Linked DNA regions of Homo sapiens: regions 1 and 2 are each linked to region 3. Evidence: promoter capture Hi-C in human tissues and cell types (Jung and others, 2019). All regions are on one chromosome and are shown on one strand. Each heading gives the region's core, a stretch centred on a gene start or on the middle of the fragment in contact. The rest is flanking DNA. Distances are from core to core; before and after follow the strand shown. Region 1 overlaps P2RX7 (purinergic receptor P2X 7). Region 2 holds the start of OASL (2'-5'-oligoadenylate synthetase like). Region 3 holds the start of UNC119B (unc-119 lipid binding chaperone B).

Region 1 (4,228 bases), core at 880-3,379, 440 kb before region 3:
ATCGTTTGAACCTGGGAGGCGGAGGTTGCAGTGAGCCAAGATCATGCCATTGCACTCCAGCCTGGGTGACAGAGTGAGACTCTGTCTCAAAATAAATAAATAAATAAATAAATAAATAAATAAATAAATAAAAAAGATCCCAGCCCAAGTCATTCCCATAGGCAATGGGAGTGTCTTCTAGATATCTCTTTATGTCCACACCTAGACACACAAATAGATATACTGATGTTACAAACGTGGCTGCAAGCTGTTTTGTAACTTGTTATTTTTGTTCAATAATATGTTATTAGTTCTTTCTATGACAGTAAAGATAGATCTGTGATAAAGATAGATCTATGATACACAGTCATTTTCAGTGGCTAAAGAGTATCTTAGTGTTTAAATTGAACATATGAAACGGCCCATTTTGGCTGGGCTCGGTGGCTCACTCATGTAATCCCAGAACTCTGGGAGGCCGAGGCAGGCAGATTAATTGAGGCCAGGAGTTCAAGACCCGCCTGGCCAACATGGTGGAAACCCCATCTCTACTAAAAATACAAAAATTAGCTGGGCGTGGTGGTGCACACCTGTAATCCCAGCTACTTGGGAGGCTGAGGCAGGAGAATCGCTTGAACCTGGGAGGCAGAGGTTGCAGTGAGCCAAGATCGTGCCACTGCACTTCAGCCTGGTGACAGACTGAGACTGTCTCAAGACAAACAAACAAACAAACAAACAACAACAAAAAAAACTGCCCATTTTGCATTTTGTAGGCCATAGCTATAGAATATAGGCAGTTCCATATGGTTCAAGCTAAAAGGTACATTGTGATAATTTGTCAACCAGCCTCTGGGATGGATATTTACTGGAACCTTTGTTCAATTTTCCCAATTATAAACATTTTTTGGTAACCCTAATATAGTCCTTACCATGTGCCAACCACTCTTCTAAGTCCATTTTGCTAACATATATTAACTCTTGCAATCCTTACTCTCCCCCACCAAAAACAAAAACAAAAACAAAAAACCAACTCTATAAGGAAGGTACTATTATTACCCCCACTTAATAGCTGAATAAACGGTGTCATGAATGAAGTGAGAAGCTTGTCCAAGGTCACATGGTAAATAGCAGCACCAGCTCCAAACACAGCCATGTAGCTTCACAGCCTCAGCTTTCTTAAATGCTACAGTGAATGGAATACTTTTTCGAATTTCCTTTTCAAATGTTCATTGCTGGTGTAAAAAAAACCCACACAATTAATTTTTGTGGTTGATCTTGTTCCTTGCAACTTGACTGAATTAGTTTATTTGCTCTAACAGTTTTCTTGTGAATTCTTTGGGATTCTCCCTATATGGGATTGTGCCACCTGTGACTAAAGATAGTTTTACTTCATCCTTTACAATCTGGATGCCTTTTATTGCTTTTTCTTGCCTAATTGCTCTGGCTAGAACTTCCAGTACAATGTCGAACAGCAGCGGTGAAAGCGGGCATCCTTGTCCTGTTCCTGATCTCAGGGAGATGCACTCAGGCTGTGCTCCTCAACACTGTGCTCACTGTCTGTCCATCCCGCATTCATGTTGCCAGGAATCCCTGCACAAGCTTCTTCTCACCCCTAAGACATTAAGTCCATAGGACAACTTCTGGGTGTGCACATTTTATAGCTGAGTTCATTTTCCCAAATCACAAAAACTTGAACCATTTCATGCTTCTATCAGCAAAGCAAGAGTGTGCACACTGCCTCTTCAGAGGGGCTTGGCCCGGCTCAGTGGCTCACGCTGTAATCCCAGCACTTTGGGAAGCTGAGGCAGGGGGATCACTGGAGGTCAGGAGTTCAAGACCAGCCTGGCCAACATGGTGAAACCCCGTCTCTACTAAAAATACAAAAATTAACCAGGCATGGCGATGTATGCCTGTAATCCCAGCATTCAGGAGGCTGAGGCAGGAGAATCACTTGAAACCAGGAGGCAGAGGTTGCAGTGAGCTGAGATTGTGCCATGCCCTCCAGCCTGGGACAGAGTAAGACTCCTCAAAAAAAAAAAAAAAAAAAAAAAAAAAAAGAGAGGCTTGACAAATAAGAGGATGGTCATGTGAACTTGGCTGGGACAGTAGAGGGTCGGGTCACCAGGCTGGGAGCACAGGGCCCGTAGGATGGGGGCTGTGAGTTTGAAGAAGAGGACAGACATAGTAGCAGCGTGCAGCCATTTGAAGAGTAGAAGAGGGACACAAGGCAGAACTCTAACCAAAGGCGAAAGTTACAGGGAGATAGATTGTGGCTCAGTATAAGGAAGAAATGTCTAACAGGGCAGTCCCAGAGCAGAACGAGCTTTCCTTGTGGTTGCTGCTGGTGATGGTGAGGAAGATGATGATGATAATTTTCATTTATCCCATCAACTTCCGTTTCTCTCCTGTCCCATTTCCATCTGCATTTAAACATCATTTCTCATCTTAAAAATGCCTCCCCTCCCCAGCTTAATCCATCCTACCACCACTCCATGCCTCTCTTCTTTATAGCTGAGTCCCTTGAAAGAGTGAGTCACCAGGCCGGGTACGGTGGCTCACGCCTGTAATCCCAGCACTTTGGGAGGCTGAGGCAGGTGGATCAAGAGGTCAGGAGTTTGAGACCAGCCTGGCCAACATGGTGAAACCCCGTCTCTACTAAAAATACAAAAAATTAGGCGGGTGTGGTGGCACATGCCTGTAATCCCAGCTACTTGGAAGGCTGAGGCAGGAGAATCACTTGAACCCAGGAGGCAGAGGTTGTGGTGAGTGGAGATCACACCATCGCACTCCAGCCTGGGCGACAGAGGAAGACTGCATCTCAAAAAAAAAAAAAAGAAAGAAAGAAGAAAGAAAGGGCGAGTCATCACATCCACTTCCGCATCTTGATTCACTCACTCCTCTACCCACTCTAGTCTGGCTCCCACCCCCATCCCTTCTCTAAAGCCTCTCTTGCCAAGTAAACAACAATGTCGTTGTCACTAAATCCAATAGATACACCATGGACCTGACCTTCCTGGAACTCTCAGCAGCAGTTGACACTGACTGTGACCATGCCCCACTTCCCTCGCCTCCTTCCCTTAGCTTGCAGGAGTCCACTTGTGCCTGACTTTCACTGGATCGCCGTGGCTACTCCTCAGAATCTTTTGGGGACTTCTGCGCTCCCACGCCTTAAAGGTTAGCACTCCTTTGGGGCGTGTTCTAGGCCCTTTTGCTTTCTCATCTACATCTTCTCTTGCTGGTCGGTTGCACCTTCTTCCAGGGTTCTGGTTGCCGTCTATATGCTGGTGATATAGAAACCTACATCTCAGCTGCAGATTCGTATATCCAACCATCCATTCAACATCTCCATTTGTACATTCCATAGACACCTCAAACTCAATGCCTTTAGTCCTGACCTCATCTTCCACCCCAAATTGGCTGTTTCTCCTGCATTTCCTATCCCAGCAAGTTATTCCAGTACCCATCAGTTGCCCAAGCCAGAAGCATGGTGCACTCTTTGACTCATCCTCTCCTTCTTGTCCACTCACCCGTTCAGTTGCCAAATCCTACTGTTTCACTTCCTAATATGCTCAAATTCATCTACTTCTCTCCTCTGCCTCTATCACCTCCCCAGTCCAGGTCGCCAACAGCTCTCAGATCTGGACATCCCAATAGTCTCCTAAATGCCCTCCCTTCCTCCAGTCTCACCCTGTCCCCTCTACTCTCTACACTGCAATACTTTAGTGAGAGCATAGACTTTGGAGTGAGGTTCAGTCTCAGCTCTATTGCTTACTGACTACATGACCTTGGGTAAGTGACTTAATCTTTCTGAGTCATTGTTTCTTCTTTTGTAATAAGAGGATATTAGGGCTGGGTGCAGTGGCTCATGCCTGTAATCCCAGAACTTTGGGAGGCCAAGGCGGGTGGCCCATTTGAAGTCAGGAGTTCAAGACCAGCTTGGCCAACATGGTGAGACCCCATCTCTACTAAAAGTACAAAAATTAGCCAGGTGTGTTGGTGCACGTCTGTAATCCCAGCTACTCAGGAAGCTGAGGTAGGAGAATCGCTTGAATCCGGAAGGTAGAGGTCGAAGTGAGGCGAGATCATACCACTGCACTCCAGCCTGGGCGACAGAGCGAGACTCTAACTCCCTTGCAAAACAAGAGGATATTAGTATTCTATTGGGCAGGGTTTCTAGTTCTAAACAACAGAACTCACTCTGCTGAGTTTAAGAAGAAAGATTGTCCAGAAAAGACAAATCTCCAGAGGCAGA
Region 2 (4,646 bases), core at 530-3,029, 330 kb before region 3:
CCTGAAACTCCTAGACTCAAGTGGTCCTCCCACCTCAGCCTCCCAAGTAGCTGGGGCTACAGGTGGACACCACCACACCTAGCTATTTTTTAAAAAACTTTTTGTTTTTAAAACAAAAACTGGAGTTTTAAACTCCAGGCCACCACTGCCTCTCACCTGCACCACTGTGCAGTGTCCTGACCATCTCCCTACATCTGTTCTTGCCCTTGCAATCATCCTCACCACAGAAGCAGAGAAGTTACAAGTGTGGCAAAGGGCAGACCGGAATTCAAAGCCAATGTGGAGTGGGGAGTTGGATACATGAGTCTGGATTTCAGGGAAGAGGTATGGATTTAAGATACAAATGTGGGAGTCACTGGGTATGGTGGCTCACGCCTGTAATCCCAGCACTTTGGGAGGCCGAGGAGGGCAGATCAGGAGTTCAAGACCAGCCTGGGCAACATGGTGAAACACTGTCCCTACTAAAAATACAAAAAGTTAGCCAGGCGCGGTGGCGGGCTCCTGTAATCCCAGCTCCTTGGGAGGCTGAGGCACAAGAATCGCCTGAACCTGGGAGGCAGAGGTTGCAGTGAGCCGAGATTGTGTCACTGAACTCCAGCCTGGGCGAGACAGTGAGACTCCATCTCAAAAATAAACAAATAAATAAAAATAAAATTAAAATGTGGAAGTTGCCAGAGTAAAAACATTTAAACGCTGGCTGAAATCACCAAGGGAGTAAGTCTAGAACAAGAAGAGAAAAGGACCCAGGACTAAGCCCTGGAGCACTTAATATTATTCAGAGTTTGGGAAGTTGCAGGTGTCCAGCTATGTTGCCCAGGCTGGTCTTGAACTCCTGGCCTCAAGTGATCCTCTCACCTTGGCCTCCCAAAGTGCTGGGACTACAAGCATGAGCCACCATGCCCAGCCCGGATCCCCAGTCTTTAAGATTCCTCTCAAGCAGGTGTCTGCTAACACCAAATGAAACTCATCTGCCGGCTTCATGTTTTCATGCTTTTTTCCTACTTAACTCATCGCACTGGACTTTTGCAGTCTCTTTTTTCTGTGTCTCCTCCACCGTTCTGGGAGTCCCCTTGGAACAGGAACCTCATCTTATTTTGTCTTCTTGGCTCAATGCATGAACTTCTTGGTTCAGTGCGTGAATCATAATACCTGTTAAACCCACTCTATGGGCCGGGCGCGGTGGCTCACGCTGTAATCCTAGCACTGTGGGAGGCCGAGGTGGGCGGATCATTTGAGGTCAGGAGTTTGAGACCAGCCTGACCAAAATGGTGAGACCCCCGTCTCTACTAAAAATACAAAAAAAAAATTAGCCGGGCGTGGTGGCACATGTCTGTAGTCCCAGCTACTAGGGAGGCTGAGGCAGGAGAATCGCTTGAACCCGTGAGGCAGAGGTTGTAGTGAGCTGAGATTGCACCACTGCACTCCAGCCTGGGCAACAGAGCAAGACCCGGCCAAAAAAAAAAAAAAACAAAAAAACAAAAAAACCCACTCTATGAATAGTGAGGGTCAAAGAGGTTAGAGTCTGGCACAGGTAGACTAGAATTCCCAGTCTGTTCTCTTGGGCTCCAGATTCTCACTCCACCACCTGAACACTAGTGAGTCCCTTCCGTTCCCAAGCCTCAATTTCCTTAGACAGATGTAAGCAGTTGAATTGACTAACAACTATCCAACCCCAACCTACTGGGCAAGTTGCCTCCTTTGGGGTCAAACACTATCCAACTTCAGTTTCCCAACGTCATAAAGGAGAACTCTAAAAGTTGAGAATCGAAACTGATGACAGATTGACTAGACGGCCAGCCTGTTAAGGTGGCCCCAGATATTCCAGCCTCAGCCCAGAGTCCTCCTGTGCCCCTACTGCAGCAAGGGTGTCTCCAAGAAGGGGGACCTGGAGTCAGCCCGTCACACCTGGTTTCCTCTCTGCTAGGGTCCCTCCTCCCACAGAGCACTGGAGGGCAGCTGAGGAGGAGCTACCTTAAAAAAGGAGGTGTGTGCCAGGGAGCTGGGTAGGAGCCTGGCTATATATCTGCCCAGCAGCGGTACTCTCGGGACAGAGATGGCACTGATGCAGGAACTGTATAGCACACCAGCCTCCAGGCTGGACTCCTTCGTGGCTCAGTGGCTGCAGCCCCACCGGGAGTGGAAGGAAGAGGTGCTAGACGCTGTGCGGACCGTGGAGGAGTTTCTGAGGCAGGAGCATTTCCAGGGGAAGCGTGGGCTGGACCAGGATGTGCGGGTGCTGAAGGTAGTCAAGGTAAGACTGGGCTCCTCCAGCCCCCACGCAAGACAAAACCCAGTATCAGAGTCCACGTCCCTGGGGATGCTGGGGACCCCTGTCCTCCTTATCCCTAGCCCATGCTGATGACATCTCAGAATACCCCATCCCACCTAGCTGTCTACACCCCACTGCACCACTGCCTTGAGTAGAATGAGTCTAGTAATAATAGCTCACATTTGGGGGCTCACTGGACTAACCTCTTAACATACACTATCTCTAATTCTTGCACTCTGTGAGATAGGTACTATTCTTTGCCCAGTTTACAGATTAGCAAATGGAGGCTCAGAACCAATACAATGCGAGGTCCTTGGTTGGATCCTAGTGTGAATGAACCATCTGTAAAATATAGTTTGGGGACAACTGGCCTAGATATCAGATAGTACATATATCTGATATGGGAAATCATTGTTGATTTTGTTAGGTGTAACAGTAGTTTTGTGGTTATCAGAAGGTTGTCTTTTGTTTGGACACGAACACTGAAGTATTTTAGGGACAAAGTTCCTTGGTGCCTATAATTTACTTTAACGTGGCTTAGATTAAGCACATGTAGCCAGGAATTTAGACTTGTTGAATCAACTAGTTGGGTATATGAGTGTTAGTTGTATCATCTATTTTTCTATGTGTTTTAACTTTTTGATAATAAAATGACTTTTTTTTTTTTTAGAGACAGGGTCTCGCTCTGTCACCCAGGCTGGAGTGCAGTGGCACAATCACCACTCACTGTAGCCTCAATCTCCCTGAGCTCAGGTGATCCTCAGCCTCCTAAATAGCTTGGGATTACAGGCATGCACCACCATGCTCAGCTAATTTTTGTATTTTTTGTAGAGATAGGGTTTCACCAATGTTGCCCATGCTGGTCTCGAACTCCTGGGATCAAGAATATGCCCACCTTGGCCTCCCAAAGTGCTGGGATTACAGGTGTGAGCCACCATGTCTGGCCGGCCAATAAAATGATTTTTGTTTTTGTTTTTTTTTTTTTGAGACAGAGTCTTGCTCTGTCACCAGGCTGGAGTGCAGTGGCACGATCTCAGCTCACTGCAACCTCTGCCTCCCAGGTTCAAGCAATTCCCCTGCCTCAGCCTCCCAAGTAGCTGGGACGACAGCGCCCACCACCACGCCCGGCTAATTTTTTGTATTTTAGTAGAGACAGGGTTTCACCGTGTTGGCTAGGATGGTCTCGATCTCCTGACCTCATGATCTGCCCTCCTCGGCCTCCCAAAGTGCTGGGATTACAGTGAGCCACTGCACTCGGCCTAAAATGATTTTTTAATGGAGGCTCAGAGAGGTGAGGTGACTTGCCCAAGGTCACACAGTGTTGAAGCTGGGATTTGAACTTGACTCAAGGGACCCAAGCCCCCCTCACTGAGATTTTCCCCCAAGCCCTTCCTCCAGCTGTTTCATGCCACCGCCTGTGCTAGCTAAGATCAAAATTCAAGAGGGTCGGAGCTAGAAAGACTTTGGAGAATCAGACAGTCTCACCAATGACTCACTTAAAAAATTAAGTAAACCGAGGCACAGAGAGGGTGAGAGATACCCCAAGGTCACACAGCGAGTTGGTGGCAAAGGCAAGACTAGAATTAGGACCCCTGACTCCCAGCCCAGTGCTCAAGTTCTCTCTCTAGGGGCAACCAACTCACAGAGGGATCTAGAAGCCCTGGGCCCCTATCCGTTCTTTGCACCTATCCCCAGCATATGAAGCCTGAGGCCATACAATTTATAAGTGAGAAACCACAAATTTTGATATTAGACAGACTCTTCGCTTCTTCCTTTACCAGCTGTGTGGTTTTGACCTTCCCACTCTTCTTTCTCAAACCCACATTCTTTTCATCTGTGATTGGGGCATCATCATCATCTCTCCCTCACCAAGCCAGTGGTGCAATGCAGGCTGAATGATTCATGCACGATAAATGCTCAGAAACAGAAGCATCATTATAATTCTTGCCAAGCTTTCTTCTGGGCCTGGGACTCAAGTCTGACTCTGGCAGACCCTCCTAGACCACCCCCTCCCCAACAAACTTGAGAATAAAGTGGAGGGAATAAGGAATGTCTGGTAAGAGGAGGATGCTACAAGAATAAGTTTATTGTGTGTGTGTGTGTTCCACCACGCCTGGCTAATCTTTGCATTTTTAGTAGAGACGGGGTTCCATCATGTTGGCCAGGCTGGTCTCGAACTCCTGACCTCAAGTGATCCACCCACCTCGGCCTCCCCAAATGCTGGGATTACAGGTGTGAACCACCACGCCCGGCCAAGAATGAGTTTTTACGGCAGGAAATGCTATTTACCTAAGCCTCAAATACTTCCTGCACATCATAGCCACTTTTCCTCTTGAAACCACTAAATGGTAGCAATCCCCAGTGAGCCATGACTAAT
Region 3 (4,251 bases), core at 1,343-3,842:
CAAAACTTTTAGAAACTAGGATAGAAAAGGTGGATTTCTTTGGAAACACATAAAAATCTTTCATCATCTATCAAGTTGGATGTCAGAACAGGGCGAACTTTTTATAGAATTCCAATCTAAGACATTTAAACTGACTTAGCAGATAATACAGTGCTAGTTTGCCAACGTTAGTTTGCCAACTGTCAGTGTAAGAAAGCCGAGATCAGCAAACTTTTCTGTAGAGCCAGATTCTAAATAATTTAGGCTTTGCCGCCACATGGTCTCTGTCACAACTACTCAACTCTATCATTGTAGCCACAAAAGCATCCACAGACAATACGCAAATGAATGAATGTGGCTATATTCCAGTAAAACTGTATTTATGGACACTGAAATATGAATTTTACATAACCACGTGTCTCAAGATTTTAAAGTTTTTTTCAACCATTTAAAAATGTACAAACCTAATCTTAGTTTGTGGGCTACACAAAATCATACAGTAGACAATACATATCATACATATCCAGGCAAGAGGATAAATCTGCCGGTGAAGACATTAGGCCCAAGTGACTAGAACATGAGCCGCAAATTGAAATAATTCTAATCACAGCAAATTTCACTGATTTCTTTCTAGGATGATTCCGGATAGCATCTTCTCCACAGCTCATTTTGATACTTGATCTTTTATTGCCTGAGTTAGTTGTTTTCGTGTTTTACAAGTTGTCTCTTTATTAAGACGACAAACTTGACAACTACTGATTATTCTGTAACTGCTAAAAAGGCTAACATTGGCTTTGGACTCTTAGAGGGTACTCAAATAATCTGCTGGATAGAATGAACGAGACGTTAAGAAGAGTAACAAAGAGGTTGCCAGACTCTAAGAAGCTGCAGAGGTGGGTTTGGACAATGAGCAACAATCCCAAGCCCCCAGATAGGATCTGAGTGCCCACTGAGAATCCTGCTTAGGGCCAGGCACAGAATACCCTAACTCACTTGGATGGCAGGAGAGGGCATGAGGTTACCAAGACCAGGTGCTGAGCATCTGTACTTTCAGAGCCCCAAATGAAAACTGGTTCAGAAGAAAAGAAGCTTTTTCACACTGTTTCAATAAAACTAACAAGAATGTCTAAAGATACGTTCAGGTCTGGTAAGGACAGTCTCAACCCAAACAGTATTGGGAAACGGGGGCATCCAAATATCTAGAATCAAATTAAAACTCTTTTAGGAAATGGGAATTCCCTTTCGCACAGGGTGGACCAAGGCCTACTCCCCCCAAATTTCCATCCCCAAATTACTAGAGCTGCAATCGGCAACCTGAGGTGCACCTGAACAGCCCTGGGCTGCCTGCTATAGCAGCTCAGCAGACACCATGGCAGCCTTCGATCCATCCAGGGAATGTTGCTGCTGCCACAGGGTTAGGAGACTGCACGCCAGGAGTGATGGGCAGGCCAAGATAGGCCTAACTAGGTGAGTGCACACTCCTGCAGGGAAAACAGCAGCAAGAGAAAAGACGTCAAGTCAGGGACTGGCTTGGCAGAGAACAGAAAAAGGGAGATCACCCAGGGCAGGGACTGGGCAACATTTTTCTTCCCACCCATCCTCCTATCAACGAAAAAGCTTAGGATGGTTGCCTTTTGTGCAGGAAACGCATTTCTGAAACTCTGAAATCATTCTTAATTCACGAGAATGTCAAAAGCAGGATTCACATGTCGGAGTCTGTACACAAACTGAAACTTTATTTTTGTTTTAATGTGGCACAGTTTTAAATGAGCAGGAAATGCCACGGCTATGTGTTTTGAGGAAGAACCCATCTGCACACTAAGGGGCAACGCTCCCGACCCAAAGAGGGAGGGAGGCCGGGCAGGCTGCAATGGGGGAGGGCTGCCATGGGGCCAGGGCGGAGGAAGCAGGTAAGGCTTCTGGCCTGCCAGAGGGCTGGGGGAGCCTGGCTGAGCGGGAACTTCACTGATGGCCGGGGGTTCCAGGCTGAGGGCCCAGGGGCCCATTTATTAGGGGACCTCGGCCCCCGGCCGGCTCAGGAGGATCCAGTTCAGCTGAACGGGGCCCTCTACCCAAACAGGTCCGGCAGAGCTGGGGAGCCGACCGGCCGAAGGGCATCCTAGCGTGGCCGGACTCACAGGAATGCGGTCCAGCCCAGGAGAGTCCTTCCCCACCAGAGCTACGTGAGCGTGGCGGGAGCAAAGCCCGGCCGGCGGGGCAGCGGGAAGCGCGGCCCGGCCGGCCGAGGGGGTCTGGCGGGGACCCCCGCGCTGGTCAAGTGGCCGGGTCCGCTGAAGGCTCCGGGAGCCGGGGCACGGCGCGAGGGGAGGGCGCGGCCCGCGCGGCACTCACTCTCGGTGACCCGGCTGAGGCGCAGGACGTGCTCGGGCCGGATGGTGTCCAGCGCCAGCAGCTCCTGCTCCGTGACCGCTGCCCCGACGCCGTCGTCGGCCGCGTGGTGGGGCGCCTGCCGCCGCGCCTTCAGGCGGTTCAGGACGCCGCCGCCCGCCTTCTTCTTCTCCTCCTTGCCAGCCACCAGCCCCCCGGGCCCAGCCGCCGACGCCGCGGCCGCAGCCTTCGGGTTAGACCCGCTCATCGCTCCGCCGCCAAGATGGCCGCCGCCTCCACAGCGCGGTAACTATGGAGAGCGGGGGCGGGGCCCGGGGCCCGGCGGGGAAGGGGCGGGGAGGGGGCGGGGCGGGGGCGGGGGCGGGCGCCCGGGGGGCTGTGGAATTCCCTTTCGCACAGGGTGGACCAAGGCCCACTCTCCCCAAACTTCCATCCCCAAATAACTAGAGCTGCCATCAGCAACCTGAGGTGCACATGAGCAGCCCTGGGCTGACTCCTATAGCAATTCAGCGGACGACACCATGGCAGCCTTCGATCCATTCAGGGAATGCTGCTGCTGCCACAGGGTTAGGAGACCGCAGGCCAGGAGTGATGGGCAGGCCAAGATAGGCCTAACTGGGTGACTGCACACTCCTGCGGGGCCCGGGGGGCGGTGCTTCGGCTACTGCCCCAACTTTGGTCCTGCCAGGTGGAGGGCCTAGGGGTGGCTGGAGCTTCAGCAACCCCACTCCCCATCAGACCCCCAAGATCCTCCACGATGTTTAAATACATATCTTACGGTCAAATGAATTTACGTCATATAAACTTTCCTCCTCCTCATCCTCCTCCTGGTCTGAAAGAGCACACAGAATCTTCCGTGCACCATCTCGGCATTCTCAATCCAAGAGTTCTGTCACCAGTCCCAACAGCACAATGGCAACTAATTCCCAGTAATCACACCAAGAAGAAGAATGGCCAGTGTTTACTGCGCACTTGCTATATGGCAGGACACTTGCTATAGGGCAGGCTCCTCACCTCACAACAACCCTGTGAGGTATTACTGTCTCCATTTTACAGATCAGGAAGCTCAAGTTCAGAGAAGTCAGGTAACATGTCCAAAGTCCCTCAAGCAGTAAGAGGAGGGAACAGGGATTTTAATCCAGGTCCATCTGACCCAAGGCCTGTTCTTCAACACTAAGCTATTAGTGGACAATGCATCTTGAGAAAATGTTTATTAATATATTTAGCATAGAAGGTAAGTTAAAGCAGTGTTTGTTTTGCAAAGGCAGTTTCAAGACAAACTTTCCAATGAGATTGCCATCCGTAAGCCCTACTGTGCCAGGCCCTGGGCTAGACATTGGGCTAGGCTACAGGAGATGTAAGAGTGAGGGCAGGGATTGGGTCTGCCTCACCCCTGAATTCCCAGCAGTTCAGCTAATGCCTGACACGTGGTAGGTGCTCAGTAATGATTGAATGAGAGCCTGAACAGTATCCCACTATGGAAGAGCTCCCACTTTTGTTAGAGAAGACTGTAAAGTACACAATTCATTATGTGACCCTTCCTTTTCACAAGGTAGGTTAGTATGAACTGGAAGACAAACTAGATTCACTGACTGCACTAAGAGATGCAGCAAAGGTGCTAGGAGAACACACAGGAGTGGTTTATTCTGACCTGGCTGTAAAAGCTTGAGGGCTTCGGAAGTTTTCAGAGGCAATATCTGCACTGAGCTTTGGAAGTTAGCCATGACCTCACCAATTAGCCAGAAGTGGGTCAACAGGGGGATGTGGTCTACCGTCTTCCACCCTGAGGGGCTCCTTCTCTAGGGATTCTAGATCTGCACTGTTCTGTGTTGGAGGCCTGGGCCTGATTGATGCAGTGTGTCTGCTAGGTCTGACATCACCTCTCAGCCAGGCTAGAGTAAAATTGCAACCGTCCCCCAGAGC

Evidence for each region. Contacts are between HindIII fragments. The study calls those that stand out against the background at their distance.
Region 1: a contact is called between a fragment that was not itself captured here and the fragment with the promoter of UNC119B in region 3, in 1 of the 25 tissues and cell types used here (dorsolateral prefrontal cortex).
Region 2: the fragment with the promoter of OASL here is called in contact with the fragment with the promoter of UNC119B in region 3 in 1 of the 25 tissues and cell types used here (IMR-90 fibroblasts).

What each region holds. Positions count from the first base shown.
Region 1 is chr12:121,144,093-121,148,320 of GRCh38, reverse strand. All of the region lies in intron 1 of P2RX7 (purinergic receptor P2X 7), which reads right to left. The region is part of intron 2 of LOC105370032 (a long non-coding RNA gene); the gene reads left to right. Among named protein-coding and RNA genes, the nearest start is that of P2RX7, 13 kb to the right of the region's middle. The HindIII fragment of the contact is 3,708 bases long and covers 276-3,983 here.
Region 2 is chr12:121,036,379-121,041,024 of GRCh38, reverse strand. It overlaps OASL (2'-5'-oligoadenylate synthetase like), which reads left to right and starts at 1,779. Exons shown (of 6, transcript NM_003733.4): 1 at 1,779-2,251. The coding sequence starts at 2,054. RefSeq lists enhancers at 1,615-2,034, 1,614-2,113, 2,114-2,615. The HindIII fragment of the contact is 11,669 bases long and covers 1,707-4,646 here.
Region 3 is chr12:120,708,799-120,713,049 of GRCh38, reverse strand. UNC119B (unc-119 lipid binding chaperone B) reads right to left here and starts at 2,592. Exons shown (of 5, transcript NM_001080533.3): 1 at 2,332-2,592. The coding sequence starts at 2,575. LOC124903036 (a long non-coding RNA gene) reads left to right here and starts at 2,544. Exons shown (of 2, transcript XR_007063491.1): 1 at 2,544-2,613; 2 at 2,776-3,117. RefSeq lists silencers at 2,283-2,552, 2,643-2,702 and an enhancer at 1,833-2,675. The HindIII fragment of the contact is 6,851 bases long and covers 1,333-4,251 here.